Regions from separate parts of the Homo sapiens genome. Here all the other regions are linked to region 6. The links are contacts of gene promoters, found by promoter capture Hi-C in blood cells and fetal thymus (Javierre and others, 2016). All regions are on one chromosome and are shown on one strand. The core of a region is centred on a gene start or on the middle of the fragment in contact, and the rest is flanking DNA. Distances in the headings are between cores, read along the strand shown.

Region 1 (3,133 bases), core at 634-3,133, 1.6 Mb after region 6:
TCTGATAATGATCTCTACATACAACTTGTCTTTTCCACCTAACCGTGTAACCAGGCTTGTGATGGGAGGAGCTGCCACTAAGTTCTCTGACATGCCCTGGAGACATTTTCCCCATTGTCTTGGCAATTAAGATTTGGCTTCTCGTTACTTATGCAAATTTCTGTAGCTAGCTTGAGTTTCTTCCCAGAAAATGGGTTTTTCTTTTCTACCATATGGTCAGGCTGCAAATTTTCCAGACTTTTACATTCTCCTTCCCTTTAAACATATGTTCCAATTTCAAATAATCTCTCTCAAGTTCTGATATGGTTTGGTTGTGTCCCCACCCAAATCTCATCTTGAACTGTAGCTCCCATAATCCCCACATGTCCTGGGAGGGACCCAGTGGGTGGTAATTGAATCACGGGGATGAGTTTTTTCTATGCTGTTCTTGCAATAGTGAATAAGTCTCACAAGATCTGATAGTTATATAGGAGAGTTCCCCTACACATGCTCCCTCTTGCCTGCTGCCATGTAAGATGTGCCTTTGCTCCTCTTTCATCTTCCACCATGATTGTGAGTCCTCCCCACCCATGTAGAACTCTGAGTCCATTAAACCCCTTTTTCTTTATAAATTACCCAGTCTCAGGTATTTCTTCATAGTAGTATGAAAATGGACTAATACAGTAAATTGGTATCACAGAGAGTGGGGTGCTGCTGTAAACATACCTGAAAATGTGGAAGCAACTTTGGAACTGGGTAACAGGCAGAGGTTGGAAAAGGTTAGGGGGCTCAGAAGAAGACAGGAAAATGTGGGAAAGTTTGGAACTTCATAGAGACTTGTCGAATGCCTTTGCCCAAAATGTGATAGTGATACCGACAATAAATTCCAGGCTGACATGGTCTCAGACAGAGATGAGGAACTTGGGCACTGGGGCAAAGGTCATTCTTGCTATGCTTTAGCAAAGAGGCTGGTGGCATTTTGCCCCACCCTAGAGATCTGTGGAACTTTGAACTTGAGAGAGATGATTTAGGGTATCTGGAAGAAGAAATTTCTAAGCACCAAAGCATTCAAGATGTGACTTGGGTACTCTTAAAAGCATTCAGTTTTAGTCATTCACAAAGATATCATTTGGAATTGGAACTTATGTTTAAAAGGGAAGCAGATCATAAAAGTTCAGAAAATTTGCAGCCCGTCGATGTGATAGAAGATAAAACCTCATTTTCTGAGGGTAAATTTAAGCCAGCTGCAGAAATCTGCATAAGTAACAAGGAGCCAAATGTTAATCACCAAGACAATGGGGAAAATGTCTCCAGAGCATGCCAGAGGTCTGCATGACAGCCCCTCCCATCACAGGCCCAGAGGCCTAGAAGGAAAAAGTGGTTTCATGGGCTAAACCCCAGGTCTTGCTGCTTTGTGCAGTCTTAGAACTTGGTGCCCTGTGTCCCAGCTGTGGCTAAAAGGGGCCAAGATATAGCTCAGGCCATTGACTCAGAGGGTGCAAGCCCCAAGCCTTGGTGCCTTACACATGGTGTTGGGCCTGCAGGTGAACAGAAGTAAAGAATTGAGGTTTGGGAACCTCCACCTAGATTTCACAGGATGTATGGAAACGCCTGGATATCCAGGCAGAAGTTTGCTGCAGGGGTGGAGCCCTCATGGAGAACCTCTGCTAGGGCAGTGCAGAAGGGAAATGTGAGGTGGTAGCCCCCACAGAGAGTCCCCCCGAGACACTGCCTAGTGTAGCTGTGAGAAGAGGGCCACCATCCTCCAAACGCCAGAATGGTAAATCCACCAACAGCTTGCACCATGCTCCTGGAAAAGCTTCATGCCAGACTGTGAGTTTGCCCAATGTCCATTTTCATGCCAGCTCATGAAAGCAGCCGGGGAAGGGGGAGTGGGCTGTACCCTGCAAAGCCACAGGGGCAGAGCTGCCCAGGACCATGGGAACCCACCTCTTGCATCAGTGTGACCTGGATGTGAGGCATATAGTCAAAGCTTATTTTGGAGCTTTAAGATTTGACTGCCCTGCTGGATTTTGGACTTGCATGGGGGCTGTGGCCCTTTTGTTTTGGCAATTTATCCCATTTGGAATGGGTATATTTACCCAAAGCCTCTACCCCCATTATATCTAGGAAGTAACTGACTTGCTTTTGATTTTACAGGCTCATAGGTGGAAGGGACTTGCCTTGTCTCAGATGAGACTCTGGATTTGGACTTTTGTATTAATGCTGCAATTAGTTAAGACTTTGGGAGACGGTTGGAAGGGGATGATTGTGTTTCGAATTGTAAGGACATGAGATTTGGGAGGGACCAGGGGTGGAATTATATGGTGTGGCTCTGTCCCCACCCAAATCTCATCTTGAATTGTAGCTCCCATAATCCCCATATGTCCTGGGAGGGACCCAGTGGGAGGTAATTGAATCATGGGGGTGGGTTTTTCCTGTGCTGTTCTTGTGATAGTGAATAAGTCTCACAAGACCTGATGGTTTTATAAAGGGCAGTTCCCCTGCACATGCTCTGTTGACTGCCATCATGTAAGACACGGCTTTCCTCCTCCTTCACCTTCCACCATGATTGTGAGGCCTCCTCTGCCATGTGGAACTGTGAGTACATTAAACCTCTTTTTCTTTATAAATTACTCAATCTCAGGTACTTCTTCATAGCAGTATGAAAATGGACTAATAAAAGTTCAAAGTTCCACCGATCTCTAGGTCAGGGGTAAAATGCCTCCAGTCTCTTTGCTAAAGCATAGCAAGAGTGACATTTGCTCCAGTTTCAAATAAGTTCCTCATCTCCATATAAGAACACCTCAGCCTGTACTTCGTTGTCCATATCACTCTCAGCATCTTGGTCAAAACCATTCAGCAAGTCTCTAGGAAGTTCCACACTTTCCCACATCTTCCTGTCTTCTGAGCCCTCCAAACTGTCCCAACTTCTTCCTGTTACCCAGTTCCGAAGTGGTTTCCACATTTTTAAGTATCTTTGTGGCAGTGCCCCAAACTCCTGGTACCAATTTCCTGTATTAATCTGTTTTTACACTGCTACAAAGAAATACCCAAAACTGGGTAATTTATAAAGGAAAGAGGTTTAATTCACTCACAGTTCCACATGGCTGGGGGGCCTCAGGAAACTTACAATCATGGAATTAGGGGAAGA
Region 2 (3,019 bases), core at 499-2,998, 1.0 Mb after region 6:
ATCAAGTAAGTACTGTTTATTTTAGGTGTGATAATGATATTTAATAATATTAATTAATTCTGTTAAGTTTTTAGGTGTGATAATGGTATTTTACAATATTAAGGAATTAATATTAAGGCTGTTGTTATGGCAATGGCATTACAGTTATATGTATAAATATATATTTATTTTAGAGGTCAGTGTTAAAATAGTTACAGATAAAATGACATCTGAAATTGTTTTAACATAATTACAGGGGTGAAAGGAATGGGTGGGCATATATATGAAGTAAGACTGATGAAGAACTGATTGTTTCAACTGGTTGATGGGTATATCAGAATTCATTAAACTATTTTCTCTACTTTTGCATACTTAAATTTCTTTATAATAGAAGTTTTTTAAAAAGAAGGACAAATAGGCCGGGCATGGTGGCTCATGCCTGTAAATCCCAGCACTTTGAGAGGCCGAGGCGGGCGGATCGCCTGAGGTTGGGAGTTCGAGACCAGCCTGACCAACATGGAGAAAACCCGTCTCTACTAAAAACACAAAATTAGCCAGGCATGGCGGCACATGTCTGCAATCCCAGCTACTCAGGAAGGCTGAGGCAGGCGAAACGCTTGAACCTGGGAAGCAGAGGTTGCGGTGAGCCGAGACCGTGCCATTGCACTCCAGCCTGGGCAACAAGAGCAAAACTCCGTCTCAAAAAAAAAAAAAAAGAAAAGAAAAGAAAGAAAAAGAAAAGAAAACTAAGGTAGAAAAAGAAAGAAAACTTTTTGCCTCAGATTTTTATTAGCCAGACCCCACACCAAATTTGAGAATTTTGAATTTTTATTCTACATCTTTCAATTATGCTAGAGCCCCTTTCTTTTCTATTTTCTAAGCTTTGCTCTAACTAGAAGCCAAAGATCCTCCTGAGCTCAAAATAAAAAGCCATTTACAATAAAGATTATAAGAGAGAAGAAACCATACCACAAAGAGTAGGAAGTTGCCCTCAGAAGCACCAGCTAACCAAAGTTATCAAAACCCTTCTTTCTGGGTCATGAGTTATAGGCTTTTCTCTTCCTGTTTCATATGAGTGTGCATATCACCAACACTGTGAGGTTATTATGCCTTTTGCCAGATTTTGTAATTTGAAGATGACTAATTTCAGTATGACAAATATGGGATTCCTGGAGAGTGGGGGCGGGGGAAGTGGGGACTAGACTGAAGACTCCATAATTCTTCTCTGTAGTCTTTTACTGTGGAGATGAAATAATATCAATATTAACATGAAAGGAGTAAAGTGAGGTCTCTTGGGAGTCTCTGAGGGTTGCATGGATTTCATTCGGAGGCAGAATCTGCTCCTGGTTCCTCTTTATCTATCATGCCTAATGCCTACGTAATGAGGGTTTAGGTAAAACCTTCTGGGTGTATACAAGCTGCTAGCCTCTGAGGCACCACTGCAGACAGGAAATATTTGCTCACTTGAGCCAACCTGTCCTCGATGCCATTTCTCTGCCAGCAGGAAGAAAGATCCACACCAAGTCTCAAGGGTAGTTACTGGGCTGATGACAATTTGAAGAAACTGTTGAAGTGTAGCCATCAACAGCCTGTGGAGACGTAGCCAACTGGATAATCTGCACAAATATTAGCTTCCAGGCTACTTGGTACTTTCTGTATTTCCAGACAAGATTTACCTAACATTTAGCCTGCTCAGGAGATGCAAAACAATATAAGTTTCTGTTAAATCTGGGTTACTTCATTGGACAGACACCAGAACCAATAAACTTCTAAAATAGGAGAGCACCTTGTTGCTTAGTTTTGGTGTCAGGTGTTCCCGACAGTGACATTGAAAAAGTTATTTTGTTTTTCTTAGTTTTCTCATCTGAAAAAGAAGTGGATAACACCTATTTCAGAGGGTTGCTGCAGACACTAAAATGATTAACATATGTAAAAATGTCTAGTTTTTGCTTGATTTACTAAATAAGTATTAGTTTCCTTTTGAATTATTTGCCATGAAAGCCTTTCGGTGTCCCCTCCATCCCCCCCAAAAAAAAGAAAGAGAAAAAGAAAAAAGGCCCTAGCACTACTAGAACTCAAGCAGAAATTCACATTCTCCCAGCACTCACGTAGGATAAGAAATAGAATTCTACCCCAAGTCCAAAAAAGAGTCTGGCCCAATATCAAAATAGACTTTACCTCCAAAGCAGTTTGATATTTATTAAACACTACCTTTTTCTCTTCATTAACATCTCTTGCCTCCTGGTAATTTGCCCTTTACTTTTCCTCTGTTTCTCCAGCTTTGAAATCACACGCCATTTTTTTTAAGACAATGTAACAATGTGCAAGATATTTTTTGTTGTTGTTTTTTGCACTTTTGACATACCCTATCCCCAAACACACCCCAAACCAGGACACTGTGGAATTAATACAGTTTGGAAATTGGGTATAGTTTAGTGACTCAGTGTTAGTTAAGATGCTGGCAACAGATGTTGGCAAAGGCTATGGAATGAGTCCCAAGAATGACAAACCTTACATTACTCCAAAGGTTTGAAATCCAGGATTTCTCTGGTTAATATGGTTAATAGTTCCACTGCTGGTTTTAATTGTCTTAGAGTGGAAGGAGGTGTCATATTTTCAGGCCCTAGTAATCTCTTCCTTCAGAATTCTTCTGAATAAAAAGCTTAGCAACAAAATCACTAGAGTTAGAGTGCTATGCCTTCTTGATTTAATACTAAAACATGGAACAAATGAAACCACTCTGGCCTTTTTCCAACCTCTACAGATCCCTCATTCTTATACTTCTAGTCCGTCTTTTCTTCCTCATAACACCCCAATTCCCTTTTTGCTCTTTCTTTTCCTCCTCAAATCATATCTCTGCATTGTCTCGCTATGTGGCCACCCTTGATCTCCAGTGACCTCCAAAGGGCAAAACGCCCATAACAAGACAACAACTGCAGTAACAATCCAGTCCAAAAGTATTTGCCAAGAGTTTATTCCGCGGTTAGCACCAAACTCTCCATCTATTTTGCCACTGCAAACAGTGAACCCATAGTTCCCC
Region 3 (3,236 bases), core at 728-3,227, 1.1 Mb after region 6:
CTTGAAGAGACTGTTTTCACCTACTGAATGGTCTTAGCCACCTTCTTAAAAATCAGTTGACCACAGATGTATAGATTTATATCTGGACCTTTAATTCAGTTAGTTGATTCAATTATTATTAGTTTTATGCCGGTAATACATTGTATTGATTACTGAAGCTTTATAGTAAGTGTTGAAATTGAGAAGAAAAAAGTGCGTCTTTAATTCTGTTTGTTTTCAAGATGGCTGTGACTAGTGTAGATCCCTTGCATTTTCCTGTGAACTTTAGGATTGGGTTGTCAATTTCTACCAAAAAGGAAGCTGGGGTTTTGATAAGAATTACAGTTAATCTGTGGGTTTATTTTCAGAGTATTGTCATCTTAACAATTTTTCAATATTTTATTCCTTTTTATTCTATTGTAAAGGTAATCATTTTCTTAATTTCCTTTTTGTTCATTGCTAATATACTTAAAACAATGAATGTTATATGTTGGTCATATATTCTGGCACTTTGAATAAAGGTAATAATTATTTTCTTAATTTCCTTTTTGTTCATTGCTAATATGCTTAAAACAATGAATGTTACGTGTTGGTATTATATTCTGGCCCTTCGAATTTGTATATGACCTTTAACAGTTTTCTTTTGTGAAAATTCTTTAGAATTTTCTATATGTAAGGTCTTTTCACCTGCAAATAGAGATACAGTTTTACTTCTTCCTTTTCACTTTGGGTGCCTCTTTTTTTACTTGAGTAATTACTTGGCTAGAACTTCCAGTACAGTGTTGAATGGAAGTGAAGAATGAGGGCATCCTTGTCTTGTTCCTGACCTTAGCAGGAGAGCTTTGTCTTTTACCACTGCGTATGATGTGAGCTCTGGGGTTTTTAAAGGTGTTCTTTGTCAAGTTGAGGAAGTTCAATTCTATTCCCAGTTTTTTGTGTGTTCTTATCATGAAAGTTTAATTTTGTCAGGTTCTTTTTCTTTTTTCTACATCAATTGAGATAATGGTGTGTTTTTTCCTCTCTTTATTAATGTGGGATATTACATATGTTTTTGTATATCGAACCACCCTCATAATCCTGGGACCTGTCTCAATTGATTATAGTGTTTAATCTTCTTAATATGATGCTATATTTGGTTTGCAAGGGATATTGGCTTATGGTTTTTTGTGGTGTCTTTGTCTGGCTTTGGTGTCAGAATAATGCTGTGTTTATAGGATGTGTTGGGAAGTGTTCCATCTTCTATTTTTTAAGAGAGTTTGAGGAAGACTGGAGTTAATTCTTTAAATGTGTGGTAGAATCAACCAATGAAACCATCTAGAGGCTTCTGGCCTTTTTATTGGGAGCTTTTTGTTTACTGACTCAGTTGTCTACTTGTTAAAGATATGTTCATCTTTTCCATTTCTTGTTGAATTGTTTTTGGTAATTTGTGTGTGCCTAAGAAGTTGTTGATTTCATCTATGTTATTTGTTGGCAAACAGTTGTTCATTGTGTTTTCTTATGTTTATTTCAGTGGTAGTGTCCCATTTTCATTTCTGGTTTTAGTAATTTGGGTCTTCTCTTATTAACCAAAAGTTTGTTGATTTTGTTATCTTGTCAAAGAACCAACTTATTTACTTTATTCTGCTAGCTTTGGGTTTACTCTGCTCCTTTTTTCCTAGCTCTTATGGGTATGATGTTAGGTTATTGATTCAGGCATGTGATTTTTTTTTTTTTCTATTTTAATGTAGGCATTTATATCTAGAAATTTTACTCTGAGAACTGCTTTCACTGCATCCCCTAGGTTTTGGGATATTTTGTTTTCATTTTCAGTCATCTCTAAGTATTTTGTAATTTTCCTTGTGATTTATTCTTTGATCCATTGGTTTAACAGTGTGTTAATTTTCATGTATTTGTGAGTTTTCTAGTTTTCCTTCTGATATTGATTTCTAGTTTCATTCAATTGTGGTCAGAGAGAACGTACTTTATATGACTGCAGCCATTTGAAATTTATTGAGACTTTTCAATATGTCTGTGAATTTTTTTTTTCCCCCAAGATGGAGTCTCGTTCTATCGCCCAGGCTGGAGTGCAGTGGTGTGATCTTGGCTCAATGCAACCTCCACCTCCTGGGTTCAAGCAGTTCTCCTGCCTCAGCGTCCTCGAGTAGCTGGGACTACAGACACACGCCACCATGCCCGGCTAATTTTTGTATTCTTAGTAGAGACAGGGTTTCGCCATGTTGGCCAGGCTGATCTCAAACTCCTGACCTCAGGTGATCTGCCTGCCTCAGCCTCCCAAAGTGTTGGGATTACAGGTGTGAGCCACTGCGCCTGGCCCAATATGTCTGTTTTTTAACATTATGTCTAATTTTGTCTAATATGTCTAATTTTTTAATTTTGCTTGAGTTCTGTATTTCCTTATCAAACTTCTGACTGGTGTTTGGTTCTGTTATTGAAAGTGGGATACAGATGTCTCCATTTTTGTGATTGTGGTATTACCTGTTTCTCTTCAGTTCTGTAAATCTTTGCTATGTATGTTATATGTTGATATATCTCGAGAGAGAGATGGGGGGAGAGGGAGAGGGGGCCTGTGTTAGCTATGTATAGGTTTATATTTATTATATTTTCTAGATTGATTGACCCTCTCATTAACGTATAATGTTCTTTGTGTTTTGTAACAGTTGTTGAAGTGCATTTTGCCTGATATTAGTAGGGCCACCTTTACGAGTTGAATTGCTTTCCTCAAAAGATGTTGAAGTCTTAACTCAGGTACCTGTGAATGGAACATTGAGAAATAGGGGCTTTGTAGTAAATAGGCTTTTGTGGTAATTTGTTATGGCAGCCCTAGGAAACTAATACATTTTGGTATTGGAAGTGGGCTATGAAAAAGTACCTAAAAATGTTGGCATAGCTTTGGGATTGGGTAATGGATATTGGCTTTGAGTATTTTGAGGTATGGTGCATGCCTCTAATCCCAGCTATACTCGGGAGGCTGAGGCAGGAGAATTGCTTGAACCTAGGAGGCGATGATTGCGGTGAGCCAAGATTGCGCCGTTGCACTCCAGCCTGGGCAACAAGAGTGAAACTCTGTCTCAAAAAAAAAGAAAAGAAAAAACAGCGTAGATTGCCTTGAAGAGATGGTCAACAGAAATATGAGTGTTAAAGGCAGTCTGATGAGGCCTTAGAAGGAAATGATGAACATGTTATTGGACAGTGGAGAAAAGGTGATCCTTGTTATAAAGTTGCAGAGAACTTGACTGAATTGTGTTCTATCATTGGGT
Region 4 (3,488 bases), core at 43-2,542, 1.6 Mb after region 6:
AAGTTTAATGACATGTAGTTGGGCCTTTTTCTACTGATTGGGCTCTGTTATCATATCAAACCATTGTATCTTTCCCTGAGTCTAAAATTCTCCTTGAATTTATCAAGAAAAAAGTTGAGGAATGGTAAACATTTGAGTATGAAGCTTACAATTTCTCAACTTGTTTTGTTTTGTCCTGGTTCTGGAAAACTAGAATATCCAAGTATCTAAAAAGTCTAAGGCAAACTTAGTTATGTTTTTCTCTATCCTATTCCATGACAGAGCTAATTACTATATCCTATTCCTCTTCCCCTTTCAGAAGTGTCTATATCTGCCCAAGAATCATTTTAATAAATAGGAAATTTATTATAGTACTCTAATAGGGTGCATGACAAAGATGTTTCTGACAGCATTAGGCTGAAGGGATGCTCTTTGAGAGTTTATATGTGAGCCCAGGGTAAATCTGCATTACCTTAAGTCCCTTTTATTTATTTATTTTTGATCTGGAATATTAGTATAAAGAAGGAAAACAAATGTTAACATATTATGTGCTAGTCATTGTGCTAGGCATTGTCATACAATGATGCTACACTTAATCTTTACAATATTCCTAGCATTGTTATTCCCAGTAGTAGTAAGGGGCATTGCTGGCATACGGACCCATATCTGCTGGTACCCATGCCATGATGAATATGACTTGGGAAAAATGTGTTTTTTAGACATAGGAAACAGACACTCTAATTTTTCACTGAGTTTCTACTATTTGATTAAGCCTCTTTATTTAATTCCTCTCCCCACCTCCACCCCCGTTTCTTAAGATAATGCGCTACAAAAATGGCAATCATAAATATAAAGTTTACAAAAAAGAATGTATACACTAGTCCAGTGGAAAATATAATTGGACTGGGAATTGCAATTTTGATACTCACTTTATTTATTGGTTATTATGTGACCCTAGAAAAGACGTCTACAAGAAAAACTTTCTGTGCCTTAGTTTCTCCATCAAAAGGATAGATAAGTCATGTTTGTTCCTCCTTATTTTATAAACTTTGGGGATTAGTTGATGTAATAGAGAAAATAGAGTTCTTTTCATGATATATGCTGGGCAAATCAAAGTATTTATTGTTACAAATAACTACATTATAACCAAATGATTAGTTAAATAATGATTTTGTTTAATATGTAATGCTTATAATAAATTGCGGTAGCTTATCGCTGAATTCAGTATTTCAAGAACAATTTTTTTTTGCTGTAATTCATTATTGTCCTCAGGAAATATAAAAATTATATAGCTGAAGATAATAAACAAGTCCTGAAATAAAACTATTTCAAATACTAGTGGACTTTTTTTTTTTGAGATGGAGTTTCACTCTTGTTGCCCAGGCTGGAGTGCAATGGTGCTATCTCCGCTCACTGCAACCTCCACCTCCCAGGTTCAAGCATTTCTCCAGCCTCAGCCTCCCAAGTAGCTGAGATTACAGGCATGTGCCACCACACCCAGCTAATTTTTGTATTTTCAGTAGAGACGGGATTTCACCATGTTGATCATGCTGGTCTCAAACTCCTGACCTCAGGTGATCCACCCGCCTTGGCCTCCCAAAGTGCTGGAATTGCAGGTGGGAGCCACCATGCCCGGCCACTAGTGAACTTTTAAGAATCTCTGTTTTTGAGGCACCTGGGAAAAAATTTTTTCTTCCCTCATATTTTTCAGAAGAATGCACTAGTGTAGTGGTACCAAGAGTTTATCTGACAGAGGTTATAGGAAGCTCCGCTTTCATTTTGGATCCCATGTCAAACACTGATTTAATATTATTCACTGGCCCTTTTAGATTGGTTCTCAGTTTCTCATAGGAATTTTGTGAATTGCATACCTGAAAAGAGAAACAAAAGACTCGGGTTGCATTCAGAGTTTTAAAGTATCTAACATTTATTTTTAGGTCTCTAAAGAGCAACAGAATAATTGCAGTACTTCTCTAATGAGGATGGAGTCTAGAGGAGACCCAAGAGCCACAACTAATACCCAGGCTCAAAGATTCCATTCACCTAAGAAAAATCCAGAAGACCAGACCATGCCCCAAAATAGGACAATATATGTTACCTTGAAGGTAAACCACAGGAGAAACCAAGATATGAAACTTAAGCTCACACATAGTGAGAATAGTAGCTTATATATGGCTCTCAACACTCTCCAGGCTGTCAGAAAAGAGATAGAAACTCACCAAGGCCAAGAAATGCTTGTGCGTGGCACAGAAGGAATCAAAGAGTACATAAACCTTGGAATGCCCCTCAGTTGTTTCCCTGAAGGTGGCCAGGTGGTCATTACATTTTCCCAAAGTAAAAGTAAGCAGAAGGAAGATAACCACATATTTGGCAGGCAGGACAAAGCATCGACTGAATGTGTCAAATTTTACATTCATGCAATTGGAATTGGGAAGTGTAAAAGAAGGATTGTTAAATGTGGGAAGCTTCACAAAAAGGGGCGCAAACTCTGTGTTTATGCTTTCAAAGGAGAAACCATCAAGGATGCACTGTGCAAGGATGGCAGATTTCTTTCCTTTCTGGAGAATGATGATTGGAAACTCATTGAAAACAATGACACCATTTTAGAAAGCACCCAGCCAGTTGATGAATTAGAAGGCAGATACTTTCAGGTTGAGGTTGAGAAAAGAATGGTCCCCAGTGCAGCAGCTTCTCAGAATCCTGAGTCAGAGAAAAGAAACACCTGTGTGTTGAGAGAACAAATCGTGGCTCAGTACCCCAGTTTGAAAAGAGAAAGTGAAAAAATCATTGAAAACTTCAAGAAAAAAATGAAAGTAAAAAATGGGGAAACATTATTTGAATTGCATAGAACAACGTTTGGGAAAGTAACAAAAAATTCTTCTTCGATTAAAGTAGTGAAACTTCTTGTACGTCTCAGTGACTCAGTTGGGTACTTATTCTGGGACAGTGCAACTACGGGTTACGCCACCTGCTTTGTTTTTAAAGGATTGTTCATTTTAACTTGTCGGCATGTAATAGATAGCATTGTGGGAGACGGAATAGAGCCAAGTAAGTGGGCAACCATAATTGGTCAATGTGTAAGGGTGACATTTGGTTATGAAGAGCTAAAAGACAAGGAAACAAACTACTTTTTTGTTGAACCTTGGTTTGAGATACATAATGAAGAGCTTGACTATGCTGTCCTGAAACTGAAGGAAAATGGACAACAAGTACCTATGGAACTATATAATGGAATTACTCCTGTGCCACTTAGTGGGTTGATACATATTATTGGCCATCCATATGGAGAAAAAAAGCAGATTGATGCTTGTGCTGTGATCCCTCAGGGTCAGCGAGCAAAGAAATGTCAGGAACGTGTTCAGTCTAAAAAAGCAGAAAGTCCAGAGTATGTCCATATGTATACTCAAAGAAGTTTCCAGAAAATAGTTCACAACCCTGATGTGATTACCTATGACACTGAATTTTTCTTTGGGGCTTCCGGCTCCCCTGTGTTTGATTCAAAAGGTTCA
Region 5 (3,009 bases), core at 241-2,740, 1.1 Mb after region 6:
CAAATTAAGAGTTCCTACTGTAGACATATTATTTACTTTACAACTTGGATCCTTGGCCAGAGAGATGAGTGAGATTTTGTATGAAATTTAGGGGTGATTTAAGGACACTGGGGTGATGACAGAAGATGTGGTGTTTTCCTGTATCCTCGGCCAGGTGAAGCATCAGGGCCTGAACAAGAACATCAACCTGGACTCTGCGGATGGGATGCCAGTGGCAAGCACTGATCAGTGGAGTGAGCTGACCGAGGCAGAGCGACTCCAAGAGAACCTTCAAGCTTATCGTACCTTCCATGTTTTGTTGGCCAGGCTCTTAGAAGACCAGCAGGTGCATTTTACCCCAACCGAAGGTGACTTCCATCAAGCTATACATACCCTTCTTCTCCAAGTCGCTGCCTTTGCATACCAGATAGAGGAGTTAATGATACTCCTGGAATACAAGATCCCCCGCAATGAGGCTGATGGGATGCCTATTAATGTTGGAGATGGTGGTCTCTTTGAGAAGAAGCTGTGGGGCCTAAAGGTGCTGCAGGAGCTTTCACAGTGGACAGTAAGGTCCATCCATGACCTTCGTTTCATTTCTTCTCATCAGACTGGGATCCCAGCACGTGGGAGCCATTATATTGCTAACAACAAGAAAATGTAGCAGTTAGTCCCTTCTCTCTTCCTTGCTTTCTCTTCTAATGGAATATGCGTAGTTCCCTGGGGCCTCGCTTTCCCATCTTAAATTTCTAAAAACAGTTAAGACAACAGGCATTTTCTTTCTTTTTTCTCTGACCACCTGCAGCCTGTTGAAGGACTACAGGTATTTTCATCAAGTAGCGTTGGAGACATACACAAATGGGCATACAAGTTTAGCCTGGGGGGTGTGATTTGTGTGCGTGCTTGCATGTGCTGCAGGTGTAAGAGAGTGGGAGCAGGGACAACGTCCTTCCACTTCAGGGTTCTAACCTTTCTAACCCACTAAGTAACCTCTACAGGCATTTAACTGCCTTACAGACAGAATATACATATGTTAATTCTAGTCCTGGATGACTCGGTCTGAGAAGATTCAATTTAAAATCAGACTCTTTAGTTGATTTAAACTCTTAGAGAATAAGAATAATAATGGCTAACTTTTATTATCTTCTATATTAAGGCAGTATGCCAAGGGTCTTTATGTATATTATGTACAGCGTTTACAACCTTGTGAGCAAGGTGGTGTTACTCCCATTAGGTAGATGAGAAAACAGGCTCACAGAGATTTGGTTAAGCTCACACAGCTAACAAGTAGCACACTGAGTTTGAACACAGATCATTCTCCTTGTAAAAGCCTATGTGCCTTTCACTTTAGAGGCTTGATCATGAATCACTGCACCTCTTTGTCACAGGGTGTTGGAAGATGCATCCATGTAATCTATTCCCATCGCTGGAAAACAGCTGCTGTTAGATGTCCTCAGAAGTCAGTTGCAAATTTTAGCGTTAAAGTCAGGATTTATTGTTCATACTTGGCGGTGAGGAGGGCAGCTGGAGATCTTAAGATTCCATTTTGGAAAATGATTAGGCCCGCCAAACTTCTGAACTTTGGAAGCTGGGGATGTTTAGTAATACAGCCTGGTTTTTAAGTACTCACTAAAAGTTCTCAAATATTGGGTTGGGCACGGCTTATACCAGGTTACCTCACTTTTAATTAGTGATGCAGGCAGTGTAACCCAAGCATTTGTGGACAATGAGTGGAATACTAAAGTTAAAAAGTCAAACTTTCACCTCAGATTTTCTGGACTTAGTCATGAGGAGAGGGTGAGGCCCACTCTGTTCCTACTGGAGATACCAGAGACTCTGAAACTATAGAATAAAGCCTCTGTGCTGCACAACAAAGGGGCAGGCTCTGCTTTTATTTCTTGTAAGAACCAACATAGTATGAAAGGTTGGTCAATGCGGACATTAATGGAAAAGGCCATGTACTGGTGGTGTGATGTGAATCCAGAAATTTTCAAGTGTGTCATTTATTTTATACTTATCAATTAAAACTCAAGATCATGGATTGGGAGACCAAGTTAATTTAATTAACTGGGGCTTCTGTATTCGTAAATGAACCATGAGTCAGGGCTAACTCCCATAGGTTTCATGAGGTGTGGATGAGTAGCTTAGCTTGTATCCTTTCTCACATGGGTGTGTGTACAAAACTCCATGAAGTCACTATTACCAGAGTACTCTGGGCTAGGCATTGTAACAGTTCAGGGAAAGTAAGGCCCTGCTTTCTAATATGCATTTGTGGCAATATGGTTGTGAGTGTGTATACACACACACGTACATTACTGTGATCAGTGATGCAGACAGTGTAACCCAAGCCTTTGTGGACAGTGAGTGGAATACTACTCAAGTTAAAAAGTCACAGAACTCCTTCACCTCACATTCTCTGGACTTAGTCATGAGGAGAGGGTGAGGCCTACTCTGTTCTCACTGGAGATACCAGAGATTCTGTAAACACACAAACACACACACACACACACACACACACACATAGTCGAAATTATAAGTCCCAGGTTTGTTAGGAAGCTAAAGGAAGGAGAGGGGCCCAAAGTAGTTTCCCGGAGGAGGTAGGAGTTGTGTCTCAGTACAAAACTACAAAATACTCTGTACTGGTTGAGTACAAAAGAGAAGTCATGAGAGAAGGGAAGAGGTGATCATTTGTAATTTTGGCACTGAATGTATAGTCTTATTCCATTCAAGCTTTCTCTTAATTCTGCTTAACAGCAGCATTCTCAAATAATAAAATTTCTGCTTATTAATATGAAGCTCTTAGAGCTATCTGGATAATACTTCTGTTCAATGGAGAAATATGTCTACAATTTCTTAATGGGGAATAACTGACTATGAATTTGCTGCATCTAAAATGACCCCATCAATTATACATGTAAAAATAAATTTTTGAAATTTTTTAAATAAAAAATTAAAAGATGTTGCCCCCATACTCCCTCCATCAAAAATGTTTTTAAAAAATGAGTGTCCCCTCTCCAAGTGTTTTTATGT
Region 6 (3,207 bases), core at 511-3,010:
CTATATTGATTTCACCTCCCCCAAGAAAGCAGTGTAAATCCTCAGTTTACACCTCAACCACTGGAAGGTCCTTGCAAGTAGGAAACTTGTCTAAGTCCATGTATATGACTAACTAAGTAGAAACCATTTGTTGAGGACTGGCTACATGCCAGGCATCCTGCTAAGTGCTTTACCTGCATTCTGTTATGCAATGCTTACAATAACCCTAAGAGACATGTATCCCCATTTTACAGATGAGGAAATTAAGGCAAACAGAGGCTCAGTAATTTTCTAAGGATCACACAGAGCTGGGTTATGAAGCCAGGTCATCTGACCTCACAGTCTACACTTAAAAATCCTTCTAATTTATAGCCTTCAGGATAAACCAACCAATCAAGAGAGCTTAAGCCAATAAAAATAGCAGACATTTCACTAAGTGTTGGGCTTGAGGCTAAGGGCTTTCATATATTTTTAGATTTAATATTTATGATGTCCTATGAGGTAGGTATCATTATGTCTTCTTCATAATGAGGAAACCAATTGTCAAACAGTGCAAGTAACATGTCCAATTATACTGCTGGTGATTGGTGGAGCCAGGATTTGTTCCCAAATTTGCCAAATGGTTATGAGCACTAGTTGCAGAATCAGACTGAGGTGCTAGTTCTGGCATTGTTACTGACCAGCTGCCGACCCTAAGGAAGTTACTTAACCTCTAGAATCATCAATTTCCTCATTTTAAGACGGGACTAATAAAATTAACCCACTGGATTATTTTGAAGATTAACAAGTGCCTGACACAGAATAAAGGGTTTTAAAATGTTAACTACTAAATGGGCTGGCTATGTGCTATTTGTCAAGAGGCAAATACTCAGCTTTTCTTGGAACCTAACCAGAGCCTGGATTGGAGTTTCTCTTCCTGCTTGGCTCCTGCATTGCCAGTTCCATCCCCATCTAAATGCCCAACTCATTCTAGTGACCCTTTACTGCATCTACATTAGGATCAACCTTGAAGGTGGGTGTGGGGAGGGTAAGCATGGGCCTCAGGCTCCCCTACATTCAGGAAGGAATTTGTCATAAGTCATTCACCTTCGATAAGGGTGACCAAGACTTATTTTCCAAGACAGGGTAGCACATAGTTCTCTTTACCTGTTGTACATATCGGCCATCATCTCCACCTCCAGCTCCGCAGCCAGCTGTTGGGCCCTGAGAGGATCCATCTCAGCCTAGCACCGTGGAAGGGATCTCCTTCTGGCCTCCTAATCCTGGGAGCAGACATCACCATCAGCACCCACCGCCGCCGTTCACTCTCCTACCCCTGGGGCTAGAGGATACAGAGGACTCACAGGGCGCCAGACCACCACGGGCCACTAACCTCAGTGAGCTTAACCACCCCATTTCACGGATGTGGAAACTGAGGCCTAGCCCAAGGTCGCACAGGACGTCTATGGCGAGCCTGGAAATCGAGCCCCGGATCTCTGATGCCCCAGTTCCTGGAGGTCACCTCTATTCAGGAGATCGAGGACCGGAGGAGAACTCTCTAACCCACGAACCTGAACCTCCAGGGCCCTGGGAATGGGATCATACGCTGAACAGAGGCGACCGGGACCCAGCCCAAAGGCTACACCTCTGAAATGGCGACGCCATCATCAGGGCCACATTGAATTCAGAGGTCATGTGTCACTTACCACTGCCTGGGACGGATCACAATGCCCACGGAGACCCCAACTTCTGACAAATACTATAACGTTACCCGCCTCCCGAGAGGCTCCAGCGGAAGCACGTGGGTTACTTCCGGGAGGAAAGTCCCGCCTCTTCTTTGATTCAAACTCGCTTCCGGAATTAAATACCAACGAGACGGCGCCGGGAACTCGGCGATCATAGAGAGGGAGCGGCTGGCGCCGGGCGAAGAGGAAGGCGACTTGCCAGTGCTAGAGAGGACACCAAAGTACCATAGAAGCTTGGGCGGGGTGCAGAGCGTCTGCAGCCCGATCAGAATTCAAGTCCTTTGGGATGTCACCGAGCGGCTTCAGTTTATTGGTTCTGTAGGAAGAGGCGTGGCGACAGACACCTGTGAACCTCACCCCCGTTCCAGACAGCCGACTCCTGTGCGCAAATCAGGCGTGGAGAAGGAAGAACGCCCCCAAACAGCGGTTCTGTTTTTGTTTCGCGTTAAAATCACCTGGAACGTTTTTAAACATCCCAGTGCCCAGGACTCACCTCATTTCAATTAAATCAGAATCTCTGGGAGTACAGTTTAAAATTCCTCAGGCAGCAATACAATTTAAAATTCCCCAGGTGATTCGTATGTACAGCCAAATTTGAGAAGCAGTGCTCCACGGGACGTTGTGCGATTACTGCTGTGTGTAGGTCACACTAAGCCCCGTCTGGGGTTGCAAAGATAAGCGAGATAGGCTTCCTGTTCGCAGAAAGACAAGACGTGTAAAATATGTTTTCTTCAACAGTTAGAGGTCCTCAGCCACAAAGAGATAATAAAAGCAATTTCGGCTGCCACCAGGGCTAATCTTGGGTGAGGGAAAGAAGGGTACTGGTGAACTTTCCAACTTTCAAGACTTAATGTGTTCTTCAAACTGCACCATTCACTCATTCCCCACTAAAAAGAAGGAAACAAGGAAACAATACTCAGTCCCTTGATTTGTCACACAATTTCCTGGTAAAATAAATTTACAAGATGTAAATTAATGACGCAAGGGCACATTGCCCATTGGAAAAGGTGGGCTAGACATTTTCTGTGTGGTCATCATAAGCTTCCCTAATTGTCCAAGACCATCCTAATTTTAAACAATTGACCTTTCTACTGCTTTGAAGACTCATCTTTGCCAAACTTGTGCCCTGATTTTTAAAGATTGGGGTATAACATTCATAAAGTGCATAAAATACACGAATGTTAAGCTTAATTAAATATATATGTATCTATATATGTACATTTGTATAACCGCCATCCAGATCAAGATATAAAATACTTCCTGCACCCCAAAAAGTTATCTTGTGTTCCTTCCCCATCAATACCCCCTCTCGAAGTTAACCACTATTCTGACCTCTATCACCATCAATTAGTTTTCCTTGTTCTTGAACTTCGTGTAAATGGAATTATACATTATTTTCTATTTTGTGCCTGACTTCTTTAGCTCAATGTACCTGTAAGATTTCCTCCATATTGTTGTGTGCATCTGTTATTCCTTCTGTTTTATTGCTGTCTAGTGTTTGATT
Region 7 (3,089 bases), core at 420-2,919, 1.1 Mb after region 6:
GCATTATAAATTCAAAGGAGTCTGGGAATTCAGCATGTTTGGTTATATCTCTTTCCCAGAACCTGGCACCAGTCTGTGGGCATTTCATAGCTGTAGATACAAGTGAAAATAATCATGCTTTGGCTGAATGGTGGTGAATCATTTGCTGACAAGGACAAGATACCAACAGGAGGAGGGCAAGGAAAACTCTCTGAGGATGTTTTGTTTTCAGCCCTGGGCAGCATTTGCTGAGCTGGGAGATTAGGAGGCATCATTTGGTGCCCAGTACTCACATCCCCCAATTGTTCAGAGGCAGTGTAAGGACGATGCAGGCAAGACAGTCTTCAGAGTCAGATGCCAAGTCCTCATGTGACCTTAGAAAAGAAGTGTGACTTCCTGTAAAACAGGAACAAACAGGACTTTTTAGCTGTTAACTTAAAAAAATTACAACACATGCTTGTTATGGAAAATTAAAAGTGTAAAGAGGTTATATAAGGTAAAAAATACCTTCTTCATCCAGCTGTGCTTCCCAGAGATAACCACTGTAAATAGGAGGTGTGTCACCTTCCAGACATGTTTCTATGTGTGCACACATGGACCCAGGCACATAGGCACATACTACTTTCTTTTACAAAAATATAATAGTGCCAGGCCATATATACTTTTGCCTATGGAGAAGCTGATTCCCAGAGAAAAGAAGTGATGTGCACAAGGTCACACAAAGACAGATTGGAGCAGAGATGGCCCTGACCCTGTGTCTCTTGCCTGTATTTCCAGACTCAGACCGCCTCCTACCCTGCCTCACTCTCTTGGGCTGTGTGCATTCTAATTGAGCACCATAGGGGATACAAATGCAGACAATTATTCTGGCAGATAGTCAAGGGCAATAGTCAAAATATTTACTACTCTGCAAGTTGCAGCCCCAGCCAATCAGAACTAACATTGGCTGCAAATGACCTTCCTGAGGTTACTGGCTAAATATTGGCCCTGCATGTAGGAGTCTCATTTCACACCCTACATATCTCTCCACGGATGGCTGGGAAGGAATCCATGAATGAATAAATGAGGATGCAAAGTGATCTGAAATAATATCGCAAAGGAAGAAAAACTTCTTTCAATAGAAGTGTAATGTTATCAACTGCAGTGTTATCTGCCTATATATTTTTACAATCAGAGCCCTGTGAAAGGAGAAGAGGCAATAATAGAAAATGAAGGAAATAGAAAGGAGATGTTTATTGGAGTTCAACAGAACTGGACTCGAGATATGGCTCTGCGCTTAGTGGCTCTCAGACCCTGGGCAAGTGACTTAATCTCCTTGACTTTTTTTTTTTTTTTCCTGTAAACATCTGTGAATGTGAGGAGGAGAGGCACAAAAAGTAACTTAACCATGATTATACTAATTAAGGGACAGATAGGCTGAGGGGTCTGAGGGACTTTTAGTCTAGTGGGCTTATAATTTAATGTCAGGGGTAGCCCAGGGATCCTGAATTTTGCCAACAGAAAAATCATGAGATCTATGCAGATTTGGACACAGGACTTTATTTCTCATAAAGGGTTATAGCCTGCCAATGGTCATCCTGACAGGCTGAGAAGTGTACCTTCAACAGAGACCGAAAGGCAGTACTTTGAAGAAGGAGGGGTTGAGGCAGGAGCTTTATGCTACATAGGTTGGCTAAATATACATATTCAACAGGTTACAGGAGAAGCTATGAATATTCACCAAGTGGTTTCTGATGCATGCATACTGAATAAACATGCATGCTACAAATGATCTATGTTCATATTGGAGAGGGTACTTAACATTTAAATTTATTACAATGAGGCTGTCTATATTTCAGAAGATAAAACAGGGACATAAATGTTCTCAAGTGCAAAGCCTCTATAAAACCGACCAGAACCAGTCCATAGTCGGTGGTCTTTTACCAGGAAAGTTACTGAAATCTCTTTCTTGTCTAATCAAAGCTGTAGTTATGGCTTGTGGAACAGGAGGTCGGTTAGTCAGCACATGGTGGTGAATGAGCTGCAGTTATTTTAATATTGCTTTCCTTGAGGCCAGTGCTTGTTGAGCTGCTTAAGAAAGAAAAACCTTGTGGCAGTTAAAACAAAGTTTATTCTTTAAGTGTAGGGGTGCGTGACTTAACCTTTGCCTGACATGGGCGTAGGTCCTGTTTATAATTGGATATCTTACTGCCACAAAGAGTCTGTTCTGTCAGTCATATGATCTCTATTTTAACATTCATGCTGGTCAGTTGGTGTGTCTGTATACAAAAGGGAGAGGATATAACGAGGCTTGTGTGATCTCTTGTCTCCTTATGGCCAGGAACTCCATTTTTAAGGTTTCTCTGAGGTCTCCTTGGCCAAGAGAGAGTCTGTTCAATTGGTTGGGGTGGGTGCTTAAGGTTTAAATTTTAGTTCTCAATCCCATATAGGGTCTTGAGACCTTTCTCATCCTCGATTCAATCTGAGGGCAATTCTGAGTTAAATCTCCAAATAACTTCTATTCTCTCCTTGTGCACCTCATCTCTACCCCAACATACACAGGAGAAGATCACCTGAACAATAAACTTGTAGGTTTAAAGAAACTACTAGGCACCTGGCAATCCCTTGCTTCCTGCAGTCTTCCTGTCTTTCTTGAGATACTTTTTCTTAAGGATTTCTCATGGGTCTGCCTCACTTGACAATGGATATATATACTCTCAGTATTTAGCGTGGAGAAGACCCAGACTCATGAAAGAGATGCAGAGAACTAGCAGGGAGAGACAGAGACAGAGACAGAGAAAAGCCATGACTAGCATCACTAAATTAACCATGTCCTCGAGACTCATAATTCATACCATCGTTATATGTTCTCTAGGTAATTTCTGCAACCTTCCAACAAGTATTCCCATCTCCTGAAGGACAGCTGGGATCATGGCAAACTCTGAGACAAAAACCTGCAGTGGCTCGTTGTTTATAGCATTGGCTCCCAATTAAGCCTGTTAAAAATAGAGGTTTTGGGTTTCAATGTATGGAACTTTAGAAGACGAGTTCTGAGAACTAAAACTATCTACGCCCTACAGAGCTTCTACATCAACGTGACATTACTATAACACTGTCTTCACTAGCATAAC

The links. The method cuts DNA at HindIII sites, captures the fragments that hold promoters and counts their contacts. A CHiCAGO score of 5 or more calls a contact.
Region 1: a fragment that was not itself captured here is called in contact with the fragment with the promoter of TIMM10 in region 6 in 1 of 17 cell types (total CD8 T cells); the score reaches 5.7 in total CD8 T cells.
Region 2: a contact is called between a fragment that was not itself captured here and the fragment with the promoter of TIMM10 in region 6, in 14 of 17 cell types (naive CD4 T cells, naive CD8 T cells, total CD4 T cells and 11 more). The highest score is 33.5, in naive CD4 T cells.
Region 3: a fragment that was not itself captured here is called in contact with the fragment with the promoter of TIMM10 in region 6 in 3 of 17 cell types (erythroblasts, total CD8 T cells and naive CD8 T cells); the score reaches 9.6 in erythroblasts.
Region 4: a contact is called between a fragment that was not itself captured here and the fragment with the promoter of TIMM10 in region 6, in 2 of 17 cell types (naive CD4 T cells and non-activated CD4 T cells). The highest score is 9.1, in naive CD4 T cells.
Region 5: a fragment that was not itself captured here is called in contact with the fragment with the promoter of TIMM10 in region 6 in 2 of 17 cell types (total CD4 T cells and activated CD4 T cells); the score reaches 6.1 in total CD4 T cells.
Region 7: a contact is called between a fragment that was not itself captured here and the fragment with the promoter of TIMM10 in region 6, in 6 of 17 cell types (activated CD4 T cells, naive CD8 T cells, naive CD4 T cells and 3 more). The highest score is 10.2, in activated CD4 T cells.

The regions. Positions count from the first base shown.
Region 1 is chr11:59,130,205-59,133,337 of GRCh38, forward strand. No RefSeq gene overlaps it. Among named protein-coding and RNA genes, the nearest start is that of FAM111A-DT, 11 kb to the right of the region's middle. The HindIII fragment of the contact is 174 bases long and covers 1,797-1,970 here.
Region 2 is chr11:58,572,567-58,575,585 of GRCh38, forward strand. All of the region lies in intron 1 of LPXN (leupaxin), which reads right to left. Among named protein-coding and RNA genes, the nearest start is that of LPXN, 1.8 kb to the right of the region's middle. The HindIII fragment of the contact is 1,781 bases long and covers 859-2,639 here.
Region 3 is chr11:58,599,931-58,603,166 of GRCh38, forward strand. The region is part of intron 2 of ZFP91 (ZFP91 zinc finger protein, atypical E3 ubiquitin ligase); the gene reads left to right. All of the region lies in intron 2 of ZFP91-CNTF (ZFP91-CNTF readthrough (NMD candidate)), which reads left to right. Among named protein-coding and RNA genes, the nearest start is that of CNTF, 21 kb to the right of the region's middle. The HindIII fragment of the contact is 3,643 bases long and covers 157-3,236 here.
Region 4 is chr11:59,149,834-59,153,321 of GRCh38, forward strand. It overlaps FAM111A (FAM111 trypsin like peptidase A), which reads left to right. Exons shown (of 6, transcript NM_001312909.2): 6 at 1,917-3,488. Among named protein-coding and RNA genes, the nearest start is that of FAM111A, 8.7 kb to the left of the region's middle. RefSeq lists an enhancer at 2,750-2,879. The HindIII fragment of the contact is 2,300 bases long and covers 143-2,442 here.
Region 5 is chr11:58,623,880-58,626,888 of GRCh38, forward strand. CNTF (ciliary neurotrophic factor) reads left to right here. Exons shown (of 2, transcript NM_000614.4): 2 at 155-1,854. The coding sequence ends at 643. It overlaps ZFP91-CNTF (ZFP91-CNTF readthrough (NMD candidate)), which reads left to right. Exons shown (of 13, transcript NR_024091.1): 13 at 155-1,854. Among named protein-coding and RNA genes, the nearest start is that of CNTF, 2.7 kb to the left of the region's middle. The HindIII fragment of the contact is 2,434 bases long and covers 274-2,707 here.
Region 6 is chr11:57,528,994-57,532,200 of GRCh38, forward strand. TIMM10 (translocase of inner mitochondrial membrane 10) reads right to left here and starts at 1,761. Exons shown (of 3, transcript NM_012456.3): 1 at 1,665-1,761; 2 at 1,126-1,241. The coding sequence starts at 1,196. RefSeq lists an enhancer at 1,761-1,940. The HindIII fragment of the contact is 3,024 bases long and covers 1-1,934 here.
Region 7 is chr11:58,640,302-58,643,390 of GRCh38, forward strand. No RefSeq gene overlaps it. Among named protein-coding and RNA genes, the nearest start is that of CNTF, 19 kb to the left of the region's middle. The HindIII fragment of the contact is 4,055 bases long and covers 1-3,089 here.